Linked DNA regions of Homo sapiens: all the other regions are linked to region 3. Evidence: promoter capture Hi-C in 16 types of primary human blood cells and fetal thymus (Javierre and others, 2016). All regions are on one chromosome and are shown on one strand. The core of a region is centred on a gene start or on the middle of the fragment in contact, and the rest is flanking DNA. Distances in the headings are between cores, read along the strand shown. Region 1 overlaps MED12L (mediator complex subunit 12L). Region 2 overlaps TSC22D2 (TSC22 domain family member 2). Region 3 holds the start of MBNL1 (muscleblind like splicing regulator 1).

Region 1 (2,700 bases), core at 35-2,534, 1.0 Mb before region 3:
AGTCATTGAAATACTTCATGAGAAAAGGAATTTAAGTGTATAATGTAATCAAATTTAAGTAGCTAATCACAAATCCCCTTTTCTTTTTAGAAAGAAACAATATCAAGGTTATATGTTACTTTCTCTTTTTTCACCCTAAATTCTAAGCCACTATTGATTATCCCTGAAATGTTAGCTTGTGAATCTGGGTAATTGTTAAAAACAGAAAAGTGCAAGCTACAAATGAGAGCCTCGGTCCTTGCTTAGATGTAAATAGTTTTCCTATGAATTTAAAACATTTTTTTAAAGCCACCTAAATCCTATAAAATAATGCCAGTGTTTCAGGCTATAGAAAATGTCTCTTGAGAGTAATATCTTGTAACATGTATTACTTATATATATAAGTCAGTTTTCAACAGAGCTGCTGTGAATTACTGTTTTATGGCCTAATTCATTAAAAAGAATTGCCTAATTGTGGTGTAGAAACTTAGGCACTAAGGCAGAGTAATAAGAAAGGAACCTTGCTAAAACATGGAGCATGTTTTGGCTGAATAATATCAAGGAAACAGCTGTCAAAATACAGTGTTTGAGAATAGCTTTTTAAAATTTCTTTGTACGTAGAGTATTTTATCAGTTGCTAAGTACTTAAGAAATGCGCTATTATCCTAATTTATGAATTTCTCCAAATGCCAGTAAAATGGACAAGGGTAATTTTTGCTCTTTTTAGTCTTATGCGTTCTTAGTAAAGTCTCAAGGAAATAGCTGGAAATGCTCTGTTTTAATATGCATCGGTGGTAGTCTTTAAACAGTGGGAATACTTCTTTTTATGTTTTCAGCTTACATGTTTTCAATACAAAGCATTAATAAAACATTTTTTAAAGCTACCTAAATCCTATAAAATAATGCCAGTGTTTTAGGGTATAGAAAATGTCTCTTGAGAGTAATATCTTGTAACATTTATTACTTATATATATATATAAGTCAGTTTTCAACAGAGCTGCTGTGAATTACTGTTTTATGGCCTAATTTGTTAAAAAGAATTCAGTCTATGCTAATGACATGGTAATTTTCTAACATATATACAAAGAGGAAGAAAATATGGTGAGCATACTGCTCTCCATTTTCTGTGCTGAGTTAAACTGCTATTTGTACAGAAATGAAACTGGATTATCCCTGCCCTAGTCAAGGCATGTCCTAGGCAGAACCATAACATGAGTTCTAAATGGAAGCTTCCAGGTTTCTCCATTTTGTCTAATTTGTGAGTTAGACATTTTGTCAAATTTTGCCTAATTTGTTTCAAATTTTGTCTAATTTGTGAGTTCATTCCCATTAGTGGTTTTTTAAATCTAGAATGTTACTGAGGCTGAGCATAGAGCCTTTAGTAAGCTTTGAAAACACATTTCTTCTAACCTATAGGGCATTTATAAGTGAGTCAGCAGTGTTTACAAAGCACTTGTTCTCTGCAGAGAGCTACTAACAGATGAAATGGAGGAATCAAGGAAGCAATTTAAGATGTATCATAGACCTAAAGGTAAAACTAAGACCACAAAGCTTCTAGAGGAAAATGTAAAATACCTTCCCAACCTTCGGTTGGTTTTAGTATGCAAAATTTTTTAGCCACAAAACAAAAAAAATTAAGTTTTCTGAGCGTCTTCCTGACGAGAAAGAAGAATTGTGGTCTGGTTCTTGAACTTTCCTAGCGGTGTGACCCCCAAAACCAAGACTACTTCCTGCTCTGAGACCGGAGGAGACATTGGCCTCTCTGGGCTTGCTGAAGAAGGGAGAAAAAGAACAGAAAGAAGCAATTGAATATATTGACGACGTACAAAAGGAAATACAGGCTGGGCGCGGTGGCTTATGCCTATACTCTGGGAGGCCAAGGTGGGTGGATCACCTGAGGTCGGGAGTTCGAGACCAGCCTGACCAACATGCAGAAACCCCATCTCTACTAAAAATACAAAATTAGCCAGGTGTGGTGGTGCATGCCTGTAATCCCAGCTACTTGGGAGGCTGAGGCAGGAGAATCACTAGAACCTGGGAGGTGGAGGTTGCAGTGACCTGAGATCGTGCCATTGCACTCCAGCCTGGGCAACAAGAGTGAAACTCCATCACACACACACACACACACACACACACACACACACACACACACAAAATTCAGAGACTTAATGAACAAGCCAGTGGGGAGATTGTGAAAGCAGAACAGAAGTATAACAAATTCTGCCAACCATTTTTTGGAAGAGGTCAAAATTGATTGCCCAAATTTCAAATTTTTGGGTAACAGCATTTGTCAGCCATCCACAAGTGTCTACATTACTTGGGGAGGAAGACAAAGAGGCACTGTATTATTTGACGAGTTGAAGTGACAGAATTTGGAGGTATTAAATCAGGTTACAGAAAGATTTTTATTTTGATGAAAATCTTTAGTTTGAAAATAAAGTTCTCTCCAAGGAATTTCATCTGAATGAGAGTGGTGATCTATTTTTAGAGTCCACTGAAGTCAAATGCAAATCTGGAAAGGATATAATGAAAACGTTCCAGTCAAACGCAGAGTAAAGTCAGCAGGAAGAGGCAGCACGAAGAACCAGAGAGCTTCTTTACCTGGTTTACTGACCGTTCTGATGCAGGTGTTGTTGAGTTGGGAGAGTTCATCAAAGATAATACTTGGACAAATCCATTACAGTACTACTTGGTTTTCAATATGGATGATGAAGAAAGGGA
Region 2 (2,700 bases), core at 71-2,570, 1.9 Mb before region 3:
TAATCTGGCATTGCTTAGGGCAAAAACTGGGTGTCCCTCATAAAAAGGTAGGAACAGTAGCCAGTTTGCACCATTCCTATACATTATTCCATGACTTTAGGAAGTATACTTTGAGGTATACTCTTCAGATTTGGTTTAATAATATTAAAGGTATATTGATGGATTGTTTCCTGTATGAAAGTATTGCATGATTTCTGCTCTTAAATCAGGTGAATTAAATTTCATCTGGATTGCTTATCTCAAATTTAAAGCCTCAAATCAGACTTAAATAATTAGTATTTAGTATTTAGTTTGATTCCTTTGTACCCAAGCTAATTTTTGTTTAAAAAGAAAAAGTGCTTCCATCCTTTTAAGTAGTACATTTATTTGTGATGTTAGTGAAAGTTCTGCAGGTAACTGAGTTAATTTTATTAGTGTTTGCCTGGGACATATACCTATTATTAGGGTAGGCAGGACAAATAAGTAAAGTCTAAATGTTAAATTACTTAAAGCTTCTTTTCCCATAAGCCTTTCCTAAAATTTGTCTAAAGAATATTGCTTTGTAGAAGATGGAGTTTGTGATTAATGTGTCAATTATTGTAAATAATGATGGCATAGTTTTAAATGTTAGTTTTAGGCTGTTCATCTTATTACACAAGTATATAATTTAATCTGAATAAAGGATTCCCAAAGGTAAGTGTAAAGCCTCTAGTTTCTAAAGTAGAGTTAGTATTTAGTTTTTATCAAGTGGTTTTATATGTTAAAGCAAAACAAATCTTTGCTTGGCATACCGTCTACCTAGTCTTTGAAGACAAAACAAAGGAGGGAGGAGCTGTTTTGATCAAATAAAACCAATAGCGTGTTTAATTATGTGTTAACATATGTGAATGACCATTACAGAGACAGTAGAGTCAGACATACCCGGGCTAAAATCTAACTGCTACATTTGACTTTGAGCTAGTTGGTGTAGATGCCTTGTTTCCTCTTATGAAAAATGGGGATTGTACCTACCTGGGAGAGTTTTAAGGAATTAAATGATGTGTGCAAGTAATTTGAACAGTCTGTAACATAATATATGTGGCAAACGTGTATCACAGAAATGTTAATATTTCAGTGTCCAAACTGCTCTCCCAGATCACCCCTTTACATGTTATAAATCATACCAAGAATCTTCCATTTTAATATGAAAGCGTAATTGTATGGTATGGATGTAGTCAGAAAAAAGGAGATGATGTTTTAGTCTAGACGAGTCATGATGTTGTAAGAAGTATAGGGAATTGTGTTCCAGTCCTGGCTCTTCTATCATTTAGCTGGTTTCTTTGGTCAAGTCATTTCACTTGTCTGTTTTTCTTTTTTGAGACTTTGTCAAATTTTAAGATTCCTTCTAGCCTTATGTATATGAGACCATACATTCAAGTGTGCTTCATGAGAGAACTGCAAACTTAAACTTTCTTCTTTTTACCCCTTTCCTGCCACTTGACTATTGTGTGGCAATAAATGAAGTTTGTAAATACTCATTAAGTAGGTTGATTGCCCAAGAAAACATTTAAAACAGCTTATCAGTCATTCAGCTTTCATGATGCTCTGTGAGTAGTGAGCACTGGAATACAAATATGAGACTATGCTGCCCTCCTAGATCTCAGGCATTTTCATCATCATGAAAATGATGATCAGATGTATACTTTGACATACATTGGAGGTGGTGATGGAGTAATATAAGGTGCTAATGGGAACAATTTGAGACATCAGATCAGATTGGGATTGGGAGGGTAGTAGACTGACTTCTATTTAAAAATTATTCTCTGCATAGGTATTTATATAGTTCAAAACTCAAAATATATAAAAGAGTAAAATCGAAAGCCTCTCTGCTACCTCTGTCCTCCAGCCACCCTGTTTGTCCTTAGAAGTAACCCATTATTACTTGTACATTCTTTTGAGGCTAACTCTTGAACTAAATCTTAAAATGGTCATTCAGATTAAGTCACTAAGAAGAGAAGGGGATAGTTTTCCAAGCAGAGGTAAAAGGCAGTTTGTATAATGATGTGAAAGAGTGAGAATCTATCATTTGGAAAATGGTATTGTTAATTTGACAAGAACCAGAGTGAAGGACTTTAAATGTCATGGTAAGAAATTTCGATTTTTATAGTAAGTTGCTGTTAAAGGTATTTCTGGAAGCTTTTATTGTTAAAATAATATATATCTTGAAACGATTTCAGTATCCTTTTAGTGATTATTGCATTTTAAATTATAATCTTATGATAAAGCTGTGTTAAGGGAATACCTTCAGAGCGCTGAGTCCCAAAAATCAGAATTCTTACCTAATGAAATGTGCTAAATATTTTGGTACCCCTGGCTCTAAGTTTAAGTATTCTGTTTCCCTCAATATTACCTTGATAATGTCAGAACATTTGGTACATGTTGAGATACTCTACCAAAATTTGATTTATAGGTAGCATAATTTGGAAACTAACCTTATATTAAACACAAAGCAAGCTTACTTGTGTCAGGTCCTATGTATATAGACTTTCATTTGATCTTTCCAACAATTTGTAAGAAAGTGGTTTCTTCCCTTCCCCCTTTCTTATGGATTAAGGAAACTGAGACTCTTAAAATTTGAGTCACCTAGGTATTGGGTGACAAAGCCTAGACTCATATTCAGACCTTTAACCTAAAGCCAGTGCTTTTGAATATTCCCAGAGTTAGAAGTTTGTTTTATTACTT
Region 3 (2,700 bases), core at 135-2,634:
GGCAGATAGAAAGTTCCCATCCCTGTTCTCTGAGAAAGTGTCAGTGTTCTTTTAGTTTGCTTAAACTGTGTGGGTACTTGAGTCCTTTTAAACGATTAACGCTGGGAAGAGGCACCATTTAATTAATTAATTTGTTCTGGAAGGGATCAGTGTACAATTTTAACTCAGTGCTTTGTGGATCTAGCTAAAGGTCAAGAACTAAAGTCGGCTATTAGTGCCTCTGGAAGATATTTCTGCACTTTAGCACCTTTCTGATGTTTTTCCTTCACCTCGAGCTGGCCTCACTCTCTTCAACAAAACCGAACCTGCAGGAAGAATGTTGTACCATATCCAGCATTTTTGTCCCAACAAACATGGGACAAACGTTTTTCACTAGAATCATCCTTGAACAAGTTATCCGAATTCCTTACATTCAAAGGAAATCCTGCCCCCAGTCTCCAAAACTTCATCACATCACAGACGTTCAGGATTCTTTCCATTCAAAGCAAAGCCAAGTTACATCTTATAGCACCCAGTGAATTATGATATGGGGCTGCGGTTTATTTGCTCTGGCGACAATATGGCTTACTTGCCGTGGAATATCCCGGTATTTCAGAAGTAACATATTATTTTTAAAGAGGGAGCTTTGCTTTCTCTAAATCACATGGTGCAAAGTTGGGAATACAGTGGCCTGTAAATTACAAATATTATTTACAAACTAGAAGGAAAGCTGACATGTGTTTGTGCCTGTGTGACAGTTTCACTAAGGAATTCCAAAACTGTGGATAGCCTGTTACTTGAGAAAAATACACGGTGGCAGTCTTGCAGATGTTTTTCCCGCCTGTTAGCCCTCCAGGTTCAAAAACTGTTTGGTGCATTTTAAGGCGGCAGTCTCACCAGATCGCAGGATTCTAGTCTAATTGGCTTCTAACCTTCAATCTAACCTTGCCGGCTTCCTTGCAAAGCCCGGTGCAAGGGCCTCTTTCAAAATGAACCCACTGGTGTGCCTAGCAGTCGGTAGAAGAAGCGGGAGGGCGTCCGGTCTGCACGCCCGCCGCGAGGTTACAATGCTGAACGCATGAGATGGAAGATACCAACGGGAGGCCGAGGGGATCCACGGCGCCCGCGCGGGCTCCGGCTTCCTCCTGCTCTCGGCGCCGCTGGGCGACCGCCCATGACCCGCTCTTGCGGGCTCTGTCCGGTTGACAGGCGACCCTGTGGCCCGGGGAAGCGCGGGAGGGCGCCGGCGGAAAGTTGAAGAGCGTTTTTCTCGCCGCCGCGTGCATTAGGAGCTCGACGAGTCCGCCCTGGGCTTCCTGGTGGGGCTGGGCGGGCGGGGGAGGGGCCGCGCAGCAGCAGCGGAAGCCAGACCTCGGCGATAAGAGGCTGCACAGCGACATGCAACAGTCTTTTCACTGCAGCTGAATGAGTTGTGGCGCCCACAATGCTCCCATGACAAGGAGCTGACAAGTTCCATTTTCCGTCGCGGGCATCTTGGAATCATGACTCCCACAATGCCTTGGGCACTTGGTCGACAGTGGGGCCGCCTCTGAAAAAAAAATGTGAGAGGTAAGTTTCCATTTTCACAGTTTCCCCGCGCCGCTTCATTGTTCGGACTCCGGCGGGTCTGCCCGTGGCTGAAGGAGGAAGTGCGAGGAGGTGCTCGCCGGCCGCGGTTCTCCCGGGCAGGGGCGGGCCGCTCGCGGTAGTTGGTTTCGCGTCCCTCAGCACCTCCTGCCCGGGGGAAGGCGGGAGGGTGAGCCGCAGCCGCTCCTGCGCCCTTCCCTGCCGCGGGCTCTGCGGACGCTGTCACGGCACAGCCCGCGCACGGCTTGGCAGCCCAGCGGGACCCAGGGAGAAACAGGGGGGCGAGAAGAGAAACAGGTGCGTGCAAGTGTACTCACAACTTAATGACCTTTGTCGGGGGAAGGTGTGAGTCCCTCTGAGTCGAGCGGCGCGCGGGTCTTCCCGGCGGCTCCCGCATCCCTGGCCCCGGGGCTGCCATCCCGCCCGGTTTTCATCTGGGCCAAATATGTGCACGCAAAGGTTAATTCTCTGCTTGCTACCCATAAATTACGCATGACATGTTTAGCTGGGCTGCCTTATATGGAGAGTGCTGTATTTCAGGCCAGTTTGCCTTTTGCCAAGTTTACAGGGCGGAAGACGCCCTGTAGGAGAGGGCTGCCTCCTCCTTTTCTTCTTCTTCTTTTTTTTTTCATCGTTTTGTAGTGCGTCACTCAAAAACTGTAAGAAAAGTAAGTATAGAAGCTCTTTGGGTGGAGCCGCAGTTGGTTGAATTGCTTTCATGAAAGGTTGAAAAGAATGAAAAGTAGTTAGTACTTGGGTTCTGGTTTTTAGACAAAAGCAGGACAAATATGTAGCCACCCCCCAACTTTTTTTTTTTTTTTTAAACGGAGCCGGAATCTGTTATTGGTAGTAATGTGTCATGTGAGAATACTTTGATTCCAGAGCCTGTAACACGAGCAGGTATATGGTGGCGCTTATGCCTTCCCCTCGCACAGCACTTTACAACTACAGGGGTGTTGCTGCCAGAGTAATATTGTATTCTTAAGGCTCTCTGGGGCCGGGAGAGTATGCGGCTGTTGGGATTCTGGGGTGTATTTCCGTGGAGTATGTCTCCCCAGGATTAAAGTTAAGAAGCTGCCGGAAAGGTTGTTGCCGCTGACTTCACTTTGTGTGCCCACCAGCACAGGCACAAGT

Evidence for each region. The method cuts DNA at HindIII sites, captures the fragments that hold promoters and counts their contacts. A CHiCAGO score of 5 or more calls a contact.
Region 1: a contact is called between a fragment that was not itself captured here and the fragment with the promoter of MBNL1 in region 3, in 1 of 17 cell types (naive B cells). The highest score is 8.5, in naive B cells.
Region 2: a fragment that was not itself captured here is called in contact with the fragment with the promoter of MBNL1 in region 3 in 1 of 17 cell types (naive B cells); the score reaches 6.5 in naive B cells.

Annotation. Positions count from the first base shown.
Region 1 is chr3:151,267,310-151,270,009 of GRCh38, forward strand. All of the region lies in intron 16 of MED12L (mediator complex subunit 12L), which reads left to right. All of the region lies in intron 1 of P2RY14 (purinergic receptor P2Y14), which reads right to left. It also overlaps the pseudogene SETP11. Among named protein-coding and RNA genes, the nearest start is that of P2RY14, 9.9 kb to the right of the region's middle. RefSeq lists an enhancer at 1,539-1,608. The HindIII fragment of the contact is 157 bases long and covers 1,207-1,363 here.
Region 2 is chr3:150,416,634-150,419,333 of GRCh38, forward strand. The region is part of intron 1 of TSC22D2 (TSC22 domain family member 2); the gene reads left to right. Among named protein-coding and RNA genes, the nearest start is that of TSC22D2, 9.7 kb to the left of the region's middle. The HindIII fragment of the contact is 1,663 bases long and covers 490-2,152 here.
Region 3 is chr3:152,267,545-152,270,244 of GRCh38, forward strand. It overlaps MBNL1 (muscleblind like splicing regulator 1), which reads left to right and starts at 1,385. Exons shown (of 10, transcript NM_021038.5): 1 at 1,385-1,548. MBNL1-AS1 (MBNL1 antisense RNA 1) reads right to left here and starts at 2,082. Exons shown (of 2, transcript NR_027038.1): 1 at 1,884-2,082; 2 at 1-1,528. RefSeq lists enhancers at 588-1,430, 873-972, 1,431-2,272 and silencers at 1,163-1,222, 1,273-1,322, 1,723-1,832. The HindIII fragment of the contact is 10,088 bases long and covers 1-2,700 here.